2 separate regions of the Homo sapiens genome follow, and region 2 is linked to region 1. The links are contacts of gene promoters, found by promoter capture Hi-C in blood cells and fetal thymus (Javierre and others, 2016). All regions are on one chromosome and are shown on one strand. Each heading gives the region's core, a stretch centred on a gene start or on the middle of the fragment in contact. The rest is flanking DNA. Distances are from core to core; before and after follow the strand shown.

What was found. The method cuts DNA at HindIII sites, captures the fragments that hold promoters and counts their contacts. A CHiCAGO score of 5 or more calls a contact.
Region 2: a contact is called between a fragment that was not itself captured here and the fragment with the promoter of CORO1A in region 1, in 1 of 17 cell types (fetal thymus). The highest score is 5.7, in fetal thymus.

Annotation. Positions count from the first base shown.
Region 1 is chr16:30,181,204-30,185,458 of GRCh38, reverse strand. CORO1A (coronin 1A) reads right to left here and starts at 1,857. Exons shown (of 11, transcript NM_007074.4): 1 at 1,734-1,857; 2 at 52-250. The coding sequence starts at 249. CORO1A-AS1 (CORO1A antisense RNA 1) reads left to right here and starts at 671. Exons shown (of 2, transcript NR_186359.1): 1 at 671-955; 2 at 1,688-2,066. RefSeq lists silencers at 1-54, 1,425-1,534, 1,565-2,024, 2,165-2,274 and enhancers at 1-493, 494-1,035, 1,036-1,576, 2,995-3,104. The HindIII fragment of the contact is 25,461 bases long and covers 1-4,255 here.
Region 2 is chr16:30,392,582-30,396,836 of GRCh38, reverse strand. ZNF48 (zinc finger protein 48) reads right to left here and starts at 1,417. Exons shown (of 3, transcript NM_001214909.2): 1 at 1,259-1,417; 2 at 964-1,057. The coding sequence starts at 1,042. RefSeq lists enhancers at 399-995, 2,997-3,497 and silencers at 966-1,225, 1,316-1,505. The HindIII fragment of the contact is 3,819 bases long and covers 350-4,168 here.

The DNA of each region.
Region 1 (4,255 bases), core at 608-3,107:
AGCCATGGGTCCGGTGGAGGAGCTGCTCCCCCCAGGGCCCCAGGGGCTCACCTTGCCCAGGGGCAGCACCAGGAAGGCCCCTCCCCCGCTGGCCTCACAGATCAGGGCCACAAACTTAGGGTTGACAGCACAGAAGCCACTGTCCCAGGTGGTCTGTGAGACGCGCACATCTTCATAGCACTGGTCGGCCTTGGCCGGCTGTCCAAACACGTGGCGGAACTTGCTGGAGCGGACCACCTGCCGGCTCATTCTGGGGGCACACAGCATAAGAGCATTTCTCCCTTCAGGTCAACTCTGATCTTCCAGTGGTCCCCACCTCCCCCAGGACACCCCTCAGTCTGGCTTTTAAGGTCCCAGCATCATCTCCAGGGGCTCCCTATTCTTCCCTCTGTGGCTGATGCCTGCTTGCCTTCCCCAGCCTCTCCTTCCCTCTAACCTGCAAGCCCCCTTCTCCCTGGCCCCAGGCCACTCTGAGCCACCCTCTCAATCTGTACCCTCAGCCTCTGCAACAGAGCCTGGCGTGGTGTTGCCCCACTGCATGTTTGTTGACTGACTGGCTGATGGATGCAGAGCCCGTCCTTCCTAATGGTTCAGACTCAGGCGTCATCAGCCCAGATGGCTCCGAGGGTGGGTTCTCTCTTAGTTACCGTGTCCAGAGCCCACCTCCCTCACACCCACACAGCGCTTCCTAAAGGCAGGGACAGGAGCTGGCCTCCCTCGCCTGCTGGCATGGGGCTGGACACAGGAGGAAGTGGCGTGGGGGCTGCCTGAGGGGAGTGAGGCGGCAGGATAGCTTCCCCAGCAGGTCTCTGGCTCAGGTCCAGGTATCTCCTCCTCCCCATACCTCTGCCTCTCGCCTCCGCTCAGAAAAGCAGGTGCCCTTAAGAGCCATCTCCACCCCCATGTAAACTGCACACAGGAAGGGAGAGGCCACTCCGACTGCTCTGAGGTCCAGGTAGGATGGTTTCCCCCAGTGTCTGGGTGGGGAGCAAGGAACTCCAGGGGCGACCTTGTGCCACCGCATCACCTTCCTGCTCAGGGAAGGGGCCTGTGCTGCCGCTTGGAGGGTGCCATGCCCAGAGCCTCTGCCCCTAGCCTCAGCCTCGCCTACTCACTGGGGGCTCCAGCACCCCCGGCCACCCCAGGACTCCCGAAGAGGCTGCTAGGTCGGCCTGCCCAAAGAGCGGTGAGGAGCGTATGTGAAGAGCCCCAGTCTTGAGGAGCAGCCTGTATCTGGAGAGAGGGGAGCCCCGGACCAGAGGTGGGGGACAGGAAGCCATCGCCCCACCCTGCCTCCTCCCCCACCACAGGTACCAGGCCCGGAAACCACGGAAAGGGGAACTTGGTCTTTTCTTGTTTTGCTCTCAACCCCTTCCTGTCTCCAAGCCCAGGGCAGCTGCCCCGCTCACCCCACCCTGCCCTCGTCCCCACCCTCCCCGAGACTCAATTCCGTGGGGAGTCGGGCCCTCGACACTGTGCTGACCCCCGGCCACCCACCTCCATCTTGGCCGCGGTGGTCCCTAGCCCTCGCCTCCGCAGAGCGCTCTGGGGCCCCGGCGGCCCCCACTCCAAGCAGCGTCCCCCCACGGGCTGCTGCGCCCGCTACCTGGCCCCGGCGCTGGCTGGGTCGCGGTGACAGCCGCGCGCCCCCGCAGCCCGCGGCTCCCACGCGCGCGCCGCCCCACAGGTGGCCCTCGCCCCGGCCCACCCGCGCCTCCCAGGCCCAGCCTCACCTGCTGCCGAGAGAGGACAGTGATCCCCCAAAAGCCGGAGGTGGAGGAGGAGGAGGAAGAGGAGGAAGGAGCTGGAGGAGCCGGGGACTCGCCCGCTGAAGATGCTCTTGTCAAGACAATGAATGAGAAGCAGCCGTGCGCCCGCCTCCGGGGTGGCCGCGCCCCTTGGGGCGGAGCTCTTCCAGGCCCGCCCTGCGCTCCCGGGCTCCCGCTGCGGCCGCCTCTCTCCCCGGCCCCTGCCCGTGCACCACGTTGGTCCCCAACCATAGCGCAGGCTGCCATCCCGGCTCCGGGAAGCGAATCTAAACTTCTTTTTAAAATGTCAAAACGCAAGAGCACCCCATTGCTTCTTTCCTCCCTGCGTCCGCCCCCAGCCTCCTCGCCAGCCTTTCCCTGGCAGGCACGAAAGCGCCCCAGGCCCGCCCGCCAGGCCTCGGTGCCCGCCCCGGCCCGGCTGCGCCGCCCCTTCCTCCCGGCCCCGCAGACGCGAGCGCAGGGGGCGCGGGGGGCGCGGGGGGCGCGAGGGGCGCGGGGGGCGCGGGCGAGGAGGAGCCCCGAGCGCGCTCCTGGACCCCCGGGACCTGGCTCTTGCCTGGCTCTGAGATCTAAGCATGGGTGGCCCCGGGAGTCGCTTCTCCTCCCTGGATCTCCTGGCTTCATCGGGAACACCCCTGCCCTCCTGCTGAAATAATCCGGCATCACGGGCACCTACTTCGTGCCAGGGGCTACAGGGTCGAGCAAGGCAGGCAAGCCAGGCAGGTTTCCGCCCCTGAAGAGCCCAGCCTGGGGGAAGGAGGAGGAGCCCACGGCCGCTCCAAGCCCTGGCTTTGGCGAAGGCTCGAGGGCAAGGAGGAATAGTTCCCACCCTTGGATTCAGAGAGGCTTCTGGAGGCAGCAACAGCGGGCAGGAAAGGCCTGCTCTAGAGTCAGACTATGTCATGAGTGCGACCGCAGCCTGTCACCTGCTGAGTGAGGTGTGGCCGCTACTTAGCCTTTCTCAGCCTCGGTTTCTCCCTCTGTAACAGTCATACCTGCCACGTAAGAGGTATGGGGATGATTACCTAAAATAACCCAAGGAAGTCAGTAAGGACCTCATCTAGAAAGTGGCGGGTGCTTAATAAACGTTAGCTCTCAGCCATGCGTAGTGACTCACGCCTGTAATCCCAGCACTTTGGGAGGCCAAGGCTGGCGGATCACCTGAGGTCAGGAGTTCGAGACCAGCCTGGCCAACATGGTAAAACCGCATCTCTACTAAAAATACAAAAATTAGCGTGGTGTAGTGATGCACCCCTGTAATCCCAGCTACTGAGGAGGCTAAGGCATGAGAATAGCTTGAACCCTGGAGGCAGAGGCTGCAGTGAGCCAAGATTGAGCCACTGTTATCACCCAGTCTTCTCTGGGTGAAAGAGCAAGACCGTCTCATTTTAAAAAAAGTTAGCTCTCATCATTCTTGTTTAAAAAGTATCTGGGCTGGGCCTGAAAGGATTAGGAAGAGCCAACAGGCAAGGCTAGAGGGGTGACCTGTAGGCTGAGGGACAGCCCTGTCGTGTGGAGAAGTTCAAGGAACAGCAAGGGACGGGTTCAAGTCCCACCTCTGCCACTGACTGGCTGTGCGATCTTGGCCAAGAGGGCTAATCTCTCTGAACCTCATTTTGTCATTGGTAAATGGGGAATTAATAAGATTTGAACTGCCCACCTCACAAAGTTATGAGGCTCTGGCCGGGCGCAGTGCCTCACGCCTGTAATCCCAGCACTTTGGGAGGCCAAGGCGGGCAGATCACGAGGTCAGGAGATGGAGACCATCCTGGCTAACATGGTGAAACCCCCTCTCTACTAAAAATACAAAAAATTAGCCAGGCATGGTGGCAGGCGCCTGTAGTCCCAGCTACTTGGGAGGCTGAGGCAGGAGAATGGTGTGAACCCAGGAGGCGGAGGTTGCAGTGAGCCGAGATCGTGGCACTACACTCCAGCCTGGGTGACAGAGCGAGACTCCATCTCAAAAAAAAAAAAAAAAAAAAATTACCCGGGCATGGTGGTGCATGCTTGTAATCCCAACTACTCTGGAGGCTGAGGCAGGAGAATTGCTTGAACCTGGGAGGCGGAGGTTGCAGTGAGCTGAGATGGCACTATTGCACTCCAGCCTGGGCAACAAGAGTGAAACTCCGTCTCAAAAAAAAAAAAATTAGCTGGGCATGGTGGTGTGCGCCTGTAGTCCCAGCTACTCGGGAGGCTGAGGCAGAAGAATCGCCTGAACCCAGGAGGCAGAGGTTGCAGTGAGCCAAGACTGTGCCATTGCACTCCAGCCTGGGCAACAGAGTAAGACTCCATCTCAACAACAACAAAAAAGTTACTAGGCTCAAATGAGACAATAAATCTGTAAATCTTTTATAGATTATTCAATTGTAAAAACCTTAGGGCTGTACTGTACTCAAAGGCCTGCGACTGGACGGGACTAGACCGAGATAAGGTGGGTACTCTGATGTGCCGTCTCCCACAGAAGTGACAGGAATAATAACTGGCTT
Region 2 (4,255 bases), core at 1,010-3,509, 210 kb before region 1:
CACACCTGTAGTCCCAGCTACTGGGAGGCTGAGGTAGGAGGATCACTTGAGCCCAGGAGGTGGAGGCTGCAGTGAGCTGTGATTGTGCCACTCTAGCCTGGGTGACACAGTGAGACCCTGTCGCCAAAAAAAAAAAAAAAAAAAAAAAGTAGCAAAGCGTGATGTCTAACTAAGGTCTCTCTGACACTCAAGCCCGTGTTAATCCCTACATTATATTGTCTATTTGGAAAACTTGGTATTTGCTATTATTATTGTATCTTATTATATTAGCCCATTCGGTAATTTATTACATCAGTTATCCTGTGTGTACCTGAGAGGACCCAGGCACACATCCCTTCCTCAAGAAGCTTAGGGTGGTAGGAGAGATAAGATTAAAGTATCAATGGTTATAATTGTGGGTGCAGAATAACTAGAATAACTATGTTGTCACAAGAGAGATAGGAGATAAGGAAATAGGAACCGGCATTACGGCAGAGCGAAGAGAAAATAATGGAGTGGAATGGAAGATAAGGTGTCAAAGGATGTTGGGACTAACCTGAGCACGCACGGTTTGGATTGGACACTAGCTAAGGCTTTTAATTAGGAGACTGGGGGACGCTAGGGAAGGTTTTCCAGAAGAGACACAGGATTATATCTGGACTTAGATCAAGCTGGCGAGAGAATGCATCAGTGGAGAGAAAGGGGCAGAGAGGAGGCTACTGCAATTGCCAGGATAAAACAGAATGAAGCCTGAAGTAGGGCAGAGGCAGTAAGGATGAGGAAGGCCGTGAGGGAGGGGACAGAGGCCGTGAAGAGCCCCTCCCGGCCTGGCGCACAGTTGGTGCTCCGAAAGCTCCCCTCCCCCTATCTCCCCAGAGGCACAGCTCACGTCCGATCTTCCAGGATCTCGGCCGGCCACAGCCAAGCATCGCAGTCCCCACCGGCCGTTACCTGTCCGTGGCGGCGCACGGCCGAGGCCCTCACCTGTGCGGGCGCCTCTCTGTGGCTCCCTCTCCTCCGGGCGGTGGAGATCTGGGCCCCAAGGCTCTACCGCGCGCTCCATCGCCGGCACGCCGCCCTGAGCAAGGGGACAGACAGCATCCCGCGGTCACGCAGCCATGTGTGGCCCGCGGCGCCCTGCCGCTGCCCTCTGCCGGCCAGCGCGGGCACCGGGCGGCGTCGGGTCCCAGGTACGGGCGCGGCTCCCGGTGCCCCCTGCCCGCGCCGCCGGCCGCCCCTGCACCTGCTGCTCCTCCCAGCGCGCAGCCGCCGCTCTCACCTTGCCGGCCGCCTCCGGCTCCGCCACCCCGGCGCCCTCCGGAGCTCCTCAGCGGGGTGCAGGCGCCCGAGCCGCCAGCGGCTCCGGGATGCAGGCTCCGCGCCAAGCCGGGAGCGGGCTCGGACCCAGGCGTCCCGGGGGCGGCCACCGGGGGCGGGGACGGGAAGCGGAAGCGCGGGGCCGCACGGAGCCGCTCTAGGACCTTGGAGGAGCTGCGGGCCTGTGGGGGTCGCCCGCGTCGGCGGTAGCTCTGTGGCCGGCGGGCGGCAGCGTGCGGCCCAGGGGCTACTCTAAGCCGAGGCCGGCGGCCCGAACTCGGTGGTATTAACCGTGTGCCTCCTGGGCTGCAGCTGGGTGGTGAGGCCCGAGGCTCTTCGTAATTGTGGCTGTGTGTCTCCAGCCACCCGCGCCGACCTCCCCGGCCGGCCGACAGCGCCAGCCACTCCGACCTGGGAGAGACAAAGAAAGAGGGATCCAAAGACGGACCCGGGGAAAGGGGTGGGGGAGAGACCAAGGCAGACAAAGGGCGGCGGAGACCCCAGACGGGGCGGGGCGGGGCGCCGAGACGTGGGAAACAAAGCGGGGCTGGTCCGAGAGGCCGAGGGCCCGGGGTGGGGGTGGGTATGGAATGGGGGCTGGGCTGGGGAGACCGAGGCAGGAGCAGAGGCTAGAGGCAGACACCGGGTAAATGCTGCTGGAGAGATGGAATCAGACCTGGGGCCCGGAACAGAGACCCTGAGCCAGAGACTCACATCAGAGCCCTGAGTCACAGAGGACGCAAAGGCAGAGAGAGACCGAGGGACAGCGGCTGACCAAAAATAAGGGGAGCCAAAGATTAGCCGCTAGAGACAGAGACGTAGAAACGGATAAGAGATAAAGTCATTGACGCAGAGTCCGAGGAGCAGTAAGAGGCTGGGAGCCTGGAGAGTAACAGGCCCAGAAGCAGAGGAACAAAAGACGATAGTGAGCGAAACGGGCAGAGACAAAGAGAAAGAGACACAAAGAAAGAGGCGGCCAGAAAGACTCCGGACAGGTCGGCAGCCCTATAGAGGCCAGGCTCAGGGAGAGGCTGAAGAACAAGCCCTGTTTCCCATCCTGGTGGGCCCCTGGCTGGAGCTGTGTTTCCAGGTTCCCAGGCCCTAGGAGCAAGATCCCAGTATCCGCTCTCTGGGCGGGCTTGGTTTTGGGGTGGAGAGAGTGTCTGGAGGTGTCTTCAGCCCCTCTGCCAATGATGGTGGGGGTAACTGTGGTTTATGCATTAATTCACATTTATTAGCATCTTAGTGCTAAGCCAAGAGTTGGGGATAAAAAGTTGAAACACCTGCAAGATTTGTCCTTGGAGAGCTACCAGTCTAAAGGAGCAAGTACACAAATCACTGAAATTAGAGAATTTAGCTGGGCCTGGTGGCCTGCCCCTGTAATCCCAGCTGAGAGGATTCCCTGAACCTGGGCATTCAAGGATGCAGTGAGCCATGATCGTGGATCGTGCCACTGTACTCCATGCTGGGCAACAGAGCGAGACCCTGTCTCTTTAAAAAAAAAAAAAAAGAGAGAGAGAATGGGCTGGGCCCAGTGGCTCATGCCTGTAATCCCAGCACTTTGGGAGGCCAAGGTGGGAGGATCACTTGAGGCCACTAGTTCGAAACCAGCCTAGGCAAAAAAGTGGACCTTGTCTCTACAAAAAAAAAACAAAAATTTAGCAGCGCATGGTAGCACATATCTGTGGTCCTGGCTACACTGGAGACTGAGGCAGGAGGATCACCTGAGCCCAGGAGGTTGAGGCTGCAGTAAACCATATTTGTGACACTGCCCTTCAGCCTGGGTAATAGAGCGAGACCCCATCTAAAAAAAAAAGAGAAAGAAAGAGAGACTGTTAAGGTAGTTATATGGACCCGGCCAGGTGCAGTGGCTCACACCTGTAATCCCAACACTTTGGGAGGCCGAGGCAGGTGAATTACATGAGGTCAGGAGTTTGAGACCAATCTGGCCAACATGGTGAAACCCTGTCTCTACTAAAAATACAAAACTTAGCAGGGCGTGGTGGCACGGGCCTGTAATCCCAGCTACTCAGGAGGCTGAGGCAGGAGTATCACTTGAACCTGAGAGGCGGAGGTTGGAAAGAGCCGAGATCACGCCACTGCATTCCAGCCTGGGTGACAGAGTCAGACTGCGTCTCAAAAAAATAAATAAATAAAATTTAAAAGGCCGGGTGTGGTGCCTCACACCTGTAATCCCAGCCCTTTGGGAGCCAGAGGCAGGAGCTCACTTGAGGTCAGGAGTTCCAGACCAGCCTGGCCAACATGGTGAAACCCCATCTCTACTAAAAATAAAAAAATTAGCAGGGCGTGGTGGCAGGCGCCTGTAATCCCAGCTACTTGGGAGGCTGAGGCAGGAGAATCACTTGAACCCCAGAGGCGGAGGTTGCAGTGAGCTGAGATCGCGCCATTGCACTCCAGCCTGGGGGACAAGAGCGAGACTTCATCTCAAGAAAAAAAAAAAAGAGTTATATGGACCAATTCACGATAGTGTGGGAGAACAGGAAGGGTTCTAGTTTGTAGTAATGAATCTCTGTGTGCCTGGCATGCATGGATGTTAGCACTGACAGAAACAGGGACCAGAAATCAACACATACCTATTGATCACTAGCTAATACCTAAACACTGTCCTAGGCCCTGGAAATAAAGAAACTCTTCAGGGAGCTCTTGGCCCAATAGGATATGGAGTTGTCAGATGGTGTGACAGGTTCTATATTGACTGTATGGACAAAATTTTATAGGAGTGTAGCGCACAGAGATACCTTCTGTAGTGTTCAGTGGGTGCAGATACTGTCTTTAAAGCCATTTATGCAGAGTGTGGTTCTTGGCCTTTGTCACTTAATTGCTACTTGACTTTAGGGAAGTTACTTAAGCTTCTGTTTCCCAAACTGTAAAATAGGGATGATAACAGCTAACTTTGATGGTTGAGGATGAATATGTGTAAAGCACTTAGCAAAAGTAT